Linked DNA regions of Homo sapiens: all the other regions are linked to region 2. The links are contacts of gene promoters, found by promoter capture Hi-C in blood cells and fetal thymus (Javierre and others, 2016). All regions are on one chromosome and are shown on one strand. Each heading gives the region's core, a stretch centred on a gene start or on the middle of the fragment in contact. The rest is flanking DNA. Distances are from core to core; before and after follow the strand shown.

The links. The method cuts DNA at HindIII sites, captures the fragments that hold promoters and counts their contacts. A CHiCAGO score of 5 or more calls a contact.
Region 1: a fragment that was not itself captured here is called in contact with the fragment with the promoter of EDIL3 in region 2 in 2 of 17 cell types (monocytes and M2 macrophages); the score reaches 6.5 in monocytes.
Region 3: a contact is called between a fragment that was not itself captured here and the fragment with the promoter of EDIL3 in region 2, in 1 of 17 cell types (megakaryocytes). The highest score is 5.8, in megakaryocytes.

Annotation. Positions count from the first base shown.
Region 1 is chr5:85,009,178-85,012,254 of GRCh38, forward strand. No RefSeq gene overlaps it. Among named protein-coding and RNA genes, the nearest start is that of EDIL3, 630 kb to the left of the region's middle. The HindIII fragment of the contact is 1,083 bases long and covers 1,009-2,091 here.
Region 2 is chr5:84,382,970-84,386,195 of GRCh38, forward strand. It overlaps EDIL3 (EGF like repeats and discoidin domains 3), which reads right to left and starts at 1,911. Exons shown (of 11, transcript NM_005711.5): 1 at 1,339-1,911. The coding sequence starts at 1,405. All of the region lies in intron 1 of EDIL3-DT (EDIL3 divergent transcript), which reads left to right. The HindIII fragment of the contact is 6,424 bases long and covers 1-3,226 here.
Region 3 is chr5:85,048,262-85,051,280 of GRCh38, forward strand. No RefSeq gene overlaps it. Among named protein-coding and RNA genes, the nearest start is that of EDIL3, 660 kb to the left of the region's middle. The HindIII fragment of the contact is 636 bases long and covers 1,000-1,635 here.

The sequences.
Region 1 (3,077 bases), core at 300-2,799, 630 kb after region 2:
TGTAAACACTAAATATAAAAAAAGCTTATTTGCCTTTACTAATACTAGACAAAATACACTTTAAGAAAAATAATATTACCAGAGATAAAAACATACATTCCATAAGGATAAAAGCACTTTTTATCAGAAAGATATAATAATCTTAAATGTATATGAAAGTAAAGACAGGTATTCAAAATACAGAAGTAAGCAGACAGAAATTAATTTGGAGATTTCAATAACACTCTTCCAGTGATTTCTAAAAGAAATAGATGAAAAATCACTGCAGTTTAAAAACATTGAACAAAATAAACCTACCTAACCTTACTGACATAGATCAAAACATCATAAAACAACAGAATAGTTATTCTTTATAACTACATATAGAAAATCCACTGGCAGATCATTTGTTGAGCCATTTAAGAAGTTTCCATATATTGCAATATATTCTGATTTTCAAACATATGTATTTTAATTCTAATTATATTGTTTGATGTCAATAGCAAAAATTCATCTTTACATTCCCCAAATATTTGAACTTTAAGTAACCTGCCACTAAAGAACTCATGTGTTAAGAAACTAAAAAGGAAAGTACAAAATTTTGAATTGAATGAAGTTTAAACACAACATGTCAAACTTTGTAAGTTACACAAAAGTAGTGGCTGGAGAAAATTTTTGTATTAGATTATAAGAATGGTTTGAAATCAATCATGCATGTTCCACCCTAAAAAGCCAATAAAATTTGGCAAAATCTTTAATGCAAAACAGCAAAAAAATTACTGTGTTTTAGCACACAGCTAAAACAAAGTACTTAGAGGATATAAATAATAAAATAGTAAGTGTGGCCATCAAGAAAATAGCAAATGAACAAATAGAAGATATAAAAGAAAAAATGTTATTTAAAAAGATGTAAGCAATTTTATAAGCCATTAATATGAATTAGACAAAAAGAGGGAAAAATTACCAGTACAGGCAATGAAAGAGAAAAGGACGTCACTTCAGAAAAGGACGTCACTTCAGATTGTTACAAGCTTAACAAAGGATTATATCAGAGATTTATGTCAAAGATTTGACATCTTGGATAAAATGGAAAATTTCCTTGAAAGACATTATTACCAGATTGACACAAGAAATAGATCAGGTGAAGTCTTTACCTTATAAAACAATCTTGAGAAAGAATGATATTGGGAAAATTATGCTATCTGATTTCGGGACTTACTCTAAAGCTATGGGAATCAAGACAGTCTTGTAATAGCATAAGCACAGATAAATGGTTCCCTGAAAGATATAAGAAATAGACTCATACTGTCATTCAATTTTTAACAGATACATGGAAGAAATTTAACGGTTCAAGAACATTTTTTCAGTAAACACTGGTAGAACAGCTTCATATCCATGTGGAAAAAGTAAATTTGTTGCTACCTTGAAATATACTGTAAAAATTAATTTGAGATGAATCATATACCTAAATATTAAACTAAAGTTATAAAGTTTATAGAATACAACATTATGACTGTATCTTCATAACATAGTTGTGAATATTTCTTAAAAAGACCACAGAAGGCAAACTTAAAAAAAATTCTAAATTGTATTTCAACAAAAATAGTAAAAATTTATCTCATCAAAAGTACAGTTTAGAAGTGAATAGGTAAATTATAGAAATAATATAATATATTTATGTAATGAAAAACCTATCTACATAATATATGTAGAACCCCTACAACTTAATAAGACAAATAAAAACAACAAAAATACTTAAAAAAGTTTAAGAAGTACTTTACAAAATATGATATAGAAATGAACAAATGTTAAATAAGCATCTGAAAAATGATCCATGTCAATAGTCATCGGGGTCATGCCAATTAAAACTACAATGAAATATTACAGGCTTGCCAGAATGGATAGTTCTAAAAAGACTAACATCACCAGATGTTAGCATCTATACGGTACAACCAATGGGAGTGTAAAATAGTATAAAATCTTTGATAACTGGCTTTGAATTTTTTAATAAAGTTATACATAAACCTACCCTATGACCCAGGAATTCCATTTCAATTAACTCAGGATAATACAACATACATCAACAAATAGATTATGTGGATGTTCATATGAAGCTTAATATTCATAATAGGCAAAGCTTGAAACATATCAATTATCTTTTGAAAAGAAAGAAATTTAGAAAAATAAGTATTATGCAATGTCAGTAAAAAGGAATAAACAACAAATGTACCCAAAAACATGTTTAAACTTCAAAAAAATATTTTACAAGAAACCAGATTCAAGTGCATGTATTTATGATTCTATGAATACATTTATGTGAATGAATTTCTCGAATAACATGAAAACTAGTCACCTGTGTTAGTGGCCTCTACTTGAGGGTGACCAGGTTTGACTGGGAAGGAGCCGGAAGAACTTTCTGGAAAGATAAAAATTTTCTATCTCTTCATAAGGTTGTAGATAACATCCGTGTACACATATATTTATTTGTCAAAACATTTCAAACTGTACACATATCTGTGCATTTTTAATCTTTGTAAATTATATAAAACTTCTTATGGGAAGATTTAGCTATCCTCCTAGTATATTTTGTGAGTACATGCTTTCTTTCTTCTTTTTCCGTAAGAAAGAAATAAAAATCTATTTATTTGTATTTTTTAGGGACAGAGGACTTTAGGGACAGGAATATTATATTAACAGCTAACATAGTAGACAGATGATGCACCTTTATCGAAATAATAATTTGATTTAATTAGAAATTTCAGAAAGCATTACTTCATACCAAAATACGAAAGCATTACTTTCCATTGTTGATTCCAACAATGGAAATCTCAGGCAGCATGCAAAGGATGTAAGTGGATGGGAAGAAAATGGTGGTTTGCTGAAGTCAGCTAGAACTGGCTTGGGAGAAGCTGTTATCCACATTCTATCCCAACTACTCATTTTGTGACTTCACTTTGGAAGCTTTAAATTGCCGGAGTGGGAGTATTCACATAATGGAAAATGGAAAATATTACCAATCAGAGCTGCTGCTCACTCACCCAATGACCCTCTTTGGAGAGTCTGCTTACCAGAACACTACTGAAAGTGAAATTGTCTTG
Region 2 (3,226 bases), core at 661-3,160:
CGAACAGTCGCCCAAGAGTCCACAATTTTCTTGTGACTCAAATAGATGGATAGGTGCATGGATGGATGGTGCAGAATATTCATACTCTGTCTAATCTCAAGTGGACTGGAGTCAACGCATTTTTAAATCCATCTACCTTTTTTAGAGGCACAGCATTTAAAACCCTGTAGTTCACTCAGCTTTCCACTTGAAGCTGCCTGCAGAGGATTCTATTACCCGCGGATCCCTCACAAGGGGCCGCCCGCATCTGTGAGCGCAGGAGTGGCACAGCTCCCCCAGGCACAGCTCCCACTCGCCTCCCCACACACCCTGCTGCCCCCGCTGCCCTTTTCCGGCGACTACTTCAGCCCCGGCCAGCGGTGAGACCCAGGTCAGCACAAGGGTTTGTATGGACAAGCTGCACCTCGCAGGGGACCTGGAAGTCGCCTAAACTACTCCAGCAGGACACTCGTCGAAGTCCTGCGTTTTCTTTTAAATGCTTTTTTCTTTTTAATTTAATTTGATTTTTATTTTTCTGTTTTTATTTTTTCGTGCAATTCACAGAAGGCATCACCCTACAAGCTCTCACAACTTTTCCGCTCCTGTGCGGGGACGCGAGGGGTGGCTTGCCCCGCACTATTCCCCATTACCAAGAGTTAACACTGGTACTCGGAGGGGGTGCGCAGCTAAGCTCCAGGCCCCTGGGGTCAGACTAGGAGAGGCGGGTTCCTGGGGTTTGCTGTAATCGATGCTGCTCCTCTGGGATGGGGAGGCAGGAGAAAGCTGAAGTGACCTGTGAGACTCCTCTCCACCTCACCCGCGGCCAAAACGCCCAGCGCCGGGTCTGGGTTTGCGAACGGCTCAGCCCAGGCCCTGCGCCAGAGCACCGCACCCGGGGGCGGACGGCCCTGCAGCTCCCCAGCCTCTTCCCGCATCAACTAGCTGACGCCCGGGCGCACTGGCTTCCCCCGCTCCCGCCCGCACGAAAGCCCTGCCCGACGTCTGCAGTCAGCATCGCCCGCACTGCCTAGGGAGGGTTTGCGCCGAGACCCAGTGGCCGAGTGAGCCACAGAGTCGCTGGTCCTGGGGACGCTGTCTTCTACCGCTCCCCACCGTCCTCCTCTTTCCTGTATCTCACCCCGGTACCCCGCACCCTTCTCCCCGCTCGGCCCCGCGCACTCTGCTCAGACTTTACAAGCACTTTCTCGGGGCACCCAGGACTCGACGCCTCCTCCGCGCCGCCAGCGGCGCTCGCCACCCTTGGCACGCCGGAGGGACCGCCTCCGGCCCCCTGCGCGGCGTTTCTCAGGGGACTCCCAGCCCATCCCTCACCCAGCTGTCCGGGTCCCGACGCCTTACCTTTGCCGAACTGGGGGACACCGAGGCTGAGCCCGACCAAGAGCCAGACGGCTACCGAGCGCTTCATGATCCCGTCTCCCGGACGTGACCCCGGCTGGTCAGGGGTCGTCGCGGAGGGCAGTGTAGCCGAGGTGGCAGCGCAGGGCAGCAGCAGACTCCGCCCCTACTAAAGAATTCAAGAAGACGTTCTCTTTCCTCAGCGCTTTGTTAAACAAATTCTTGGAGAGGGCGAGAGTGGTGACTAAAGAGAGGAGCCTTTCCTCCCCTTTTGCCTGCGCTCCGGCGCGCGGAGGTGGGTGAGCTCCGGGGAGCCGCCGGCGGGCTCAGCCCTCCGCTGCGGGTGGGTCCCGGCAGAGGCGCGGCGGGCGGGGCGCGGGCTCCCGCGGCCGCCCCGGGTCTGCTGCGCGGGCAGGCAGACCCACCGGCAGACAGGCGGACCGGGCGCTCGGCTGTCGCTGTTCTCCGCGCGGCGGCTGCGGGGCTTCTGACTTGGAGAACAATGAAGCGTGAGCTGGAGGGGAGCGAGCGGGCCGCCGGGAGCGCACTGTGTACAAACAGAGGCGGCGTGCGTGTGAGTCTGAGCCTGGCAGGCGCGCTCCCCACTCCCCCGGCGCCCGCCCGCCCTCCGCCCGCCCTGTTATTCACTCCCCGGGTCTCCCCCTCCTCTCTCTCTCTTTTGCTCTCTCTCTCTGTCTCTCTTTTGCTCTCTCTCTCCTTCCTCCCTCCTCCCCTCCTCTTTCAGCTCCTTCTGCTATAAGAGAAAAGGGAGACAACTGCAGCCACACCCTAGCACCTAGCACCTGCCACCACCTCTGAAGTTCCTGCATTGCCTGTACCTTCTCCGCACATGCTGGAGACTGTGGGGTTAAGAGCTGCACCCTTGCTGCCTGAGAGTCCCTTGGATTCCAGCACTGACTTTATAATTAACCACGTTAAGGATTCCCCTGAACTTCCTTTCTCAGTATAACCAGGAACAGAAGTTAAGAGATTTTGAAAAGTGACTCTTGGGGCACAAAACTGCATGAGAGACAGAACCCTGCAAAGTGAATTGCCCCGTATTTCTCAGGAACTGCAACGTAGTCAGCAACCAGACCCTAATCAGCTAAGACAGGGCTGCTCTGCTGCTCTGTCTACAATTTAGTTAGCTCCAGGGCTGGGGAGAGAGGGTTGTGGGCTCATCTGTTCACGGGGGCAAAAGGGTGGAAGTGAGTAGGAGACATGCATCTCGTTAAGCAGGACATCTGTTTCAGAGAAGAAGTGGGGCAAGTTTGGGAACTGTGCAAGAACATAAAGGCAAAGACAGACCCTTGAAGCATCACTAAGGTGGATCAAATTTTCTTTCTATCCGCCAAAATAAATGGACTGGTTTTTGCAGTGGAAGTGATTGAACCAAAAATACAGCTCATGGCTTACAATTGTGCTTTCTTCTCTGTTTTTCGGTTAGAATGATTGCTTATTGTACATGGATCCAATTCCAGCAGTTACAGGTACCAAAATGAAACAGGGCTTCTTTTTTCTTTTTTTTCTTTTTTTTTTCTTTTCCTTTTTTCTTTTCTTTTTTTTTTTTTTTTGTCTTCTAGAGAGGGAGGTAGGGAGAGAGACAAACACAGAGCTAGAGAAATTGAAAGAGAAACATTCTCGAAGGCAAAGAGTTGAAAGGTGAATCTACTAAGAAAAGAATAACAGAGTGCAATTAGCCATGGAACTACATCTCCATCTGCCTCCTTTAAAGGATGAGTCCTTTAAAGGTGAGATGAGTCCTTTAAACTTAAATTTCTACCTTCCTTTTCAAATTTTAAGTGAAATGAAGAATGCGAGGTGAATGGAACCGTAATGCTGAATACTGCTAGGGAGGGTTTAAGGTATTGTATAACTGACAAGCAAACAA
Region 3 (3,019 bases), core at 68-2,567, 660 kb after region 2:
TGGGACCCCTTAGGCAGAAATCCAAGCATTTGGAACATCCACTTTCCTGGACTGGTGGCCAAAACCACCCCACTCTTACTGGAAATAGATCATTGTGCAGCAGGGCTCTCTCTGTTCCACAAGTAGGCAGATCTCCAGGCATTTGGAACACTCACTCACTTGGATCAGTGGAATGACCCATGCCACCCTTCCTGTGTAGAGATCTTAGTGCAGGGAGGCCCTCTCTGCTTCACACTCGGGCAGATCTCCAGACAATTGTAGCACCTGCTGTGCTAGATCTACACTTTGAGTCACCTATCTTTCCAGGACATAGATCACGGTGCAGCAAGGCCTTCTCTACTCCACTCCCAGGCATATCCCCAGGCATTCAGAGGACCAGGTCAGCCAGCAGACTGAGCCACGCAACTCTTCCTGTTCAGAGATCCTGGTGTGAGGTTGAGGCTGGGGAGGCGGCTCTCTGCTGTACTCCCAGGCAGATCTCCAGGCATTCAGAGTATCTGCTTGCCTAGTTCAGCAGCCTGAGTTGCCCTCCTCTTCCTATGTGGTCATCTTGTGGCAGATCTCCACTCTATGCCCAGGCAGATCTCCAGGCACTCAGAGCACCTGCTTGCCTGGAACAGAAGCCTGAGCAATCCTACCCTTCCTGTGTAGAGATCCTGGTGAAGGAGAGTTCTGTCTGCTTAATACCCAAGCAAATCTCCAGGCATCTAGAGCCCCCACCCTCTTGGATTAGGAGTTTAGGCCACCCTTCATCCCCATGCAGGGAATTTGAGGCTAAAGTGGTTTCCCAGCTCCATGCTACACACATCTCTTGATCTCTTGGTGCCTTGTGGCCACCCACTATATTCTCCCATGGTGGTGCTTGTGTCTGCCATGTGCAGACCTGTACACAGACCTATTCAATCAGGCCCACCCATTTGGTCTGCCTCCTCAGGGCTGAACAGGGTGCTTAGACCACCATGCACTTTATGAATCAGCCCATTGCCTGAGGCAACAGAAAGCTTCTCCCAGTAAACAAGGATCAAGTACGTACCCAGCTGCATTGGCTACATCTAGCTCTTGCCTATAAGCACCACCTACTGGTTTATATGTTAAACTTCACAGCCCAGTATAAAACCTGCTGACAAAAGTTCATAGGGCTATAGAAGCAAAGTGTAATAAAAAGATTCTATGCAACATTCTCTACAGTCACACCTCCTGGAGGTGGGGGGGACACAAGGGGAAATAAAATAATAATAATAATAATATAGAGAAAGGAAACAAGAAAAAAATCTACCTGCATGAAAATAATTACACACACACAAAATAGAAGTGCCAGTATCTCCAGGTGAGAAGGAACCAGCAGAAGAATTCTGGCTCCATGAAAAATATTAATGTAGTGACCCCATCAAAGGATTGCACTACCTTTCCAGCAATGATCCCTAACCAAAATGAAAACAAAAAAAATTATAGAGAAAGAATTGAAAGCATGGATTTCAAGGAAGCTCAATGAGATCTGGGACAAGGTTGACAGTCATGAAAAAATAACGTCTAAAGCAATCCAGGAAATTATGGAAAAGATAAAAATTTTTTAAAAGATCAATCAGAGCTTCTAAATTGAAAGAATGACATAAGGAATTTCAAAATGCAATCAAAAGCTTAATCAATAAAATGGACCAAGTAGAAGAAAGAATTTCAGAGATTGAAGACTGTCTTTCAGACTAACTCAGTCAGACAAAAATAAAGAAAAAAGAATTTACAAATTGAACAAACTCTTTGATAGATATGGGATTATGAAAAGTTACCACATCTGTGAGTAATTGTCATCTCTAACAGAGAAGGGGAAAAATGCAACAACCTGGAAAACATATTTGAGGGAGTAATTAAAGAAAATTTCTCTAATCCTGCTGTAGAGTTAGGCATCCAGATACAAGAAATCCGGAGAACACCTCCAAGACTTTATACAAAGCAAACATCATAAAGGTATATAGTCATCAAACTGCCCAAGGTCAATGTTAGAAAAATTAAAAATCTTAAATGTGGCTTGAGAAAAAAGTCAGATCATGTATGAAATTAACTGTATCAGGCTAACAGCAAATTTCTCAGCAAAAGACTTTTGCTGAGAGATTGGGCATTTTCAAAGAAAAGACATTTTCTTTATCAGCATTCTTAAAGAAAAGAAACTCCAGCCAATAATTTCATATCACAACAAACTAAGCTTCATAAGAAAAGAAGAATTAAAATCTTTTCCAGACAAGCAAGCACTAAGGGAATTCACTACCACTAGGCCAGCCTTACAGGAGATCCTTAAGGGAGTTCTAAACATGGAGATGAAAATACAATGCCTGCTACCACAAAACCACAGTTACATAGCCCACAGACTCTATAAAGCAACCATACAATAGAAACTACAGGGTAACCAACTAACAACTTCATGAGAGAATCACAACCTTACATATTAATATTAACCTTGAATGTAAATGGTCTATACACCCCATGTAAAAGGCACAGAGTGGCAAGTAAGAATTAACACAGAAACAGAAAAGCATATACCACATGTTCTCACTTACAAGTAGAAGCTAAACATTAGGTACTCATGGACATAAAGGTGGCAACAATAGAAACTGGGTACTAGTAGAGATGGGAAGAGGGAGGTGGGCAATGTTTGAAAAACTTGGGCGACAGCCTCATTTGTGCCCCAAACTTCAGCATTATGCAATACTCCCAGATAACAAACTTGCACATGTATCTCCTGAATCTAAAATAAAAGTTAAAATAAAGGATGTTTTGCAGTTAAATATATATATATATATATATATATATCATATATAGAGAGCTCTATTCATCTGATACTAAATGTATTGTATTAACATTTTTCTCCATCCTTTTAGTTTTATACTATCTATGCTTTCATACTTAAAGTGGCTTTCTTATAAATATTACATAGATGATTCTTGCTTTGTAACTTTTTAAATAGATCAGACAATTTCTGTTTTGTAACTGATGTTTGTTGATGCATAAAGAGATTATTGATATGATT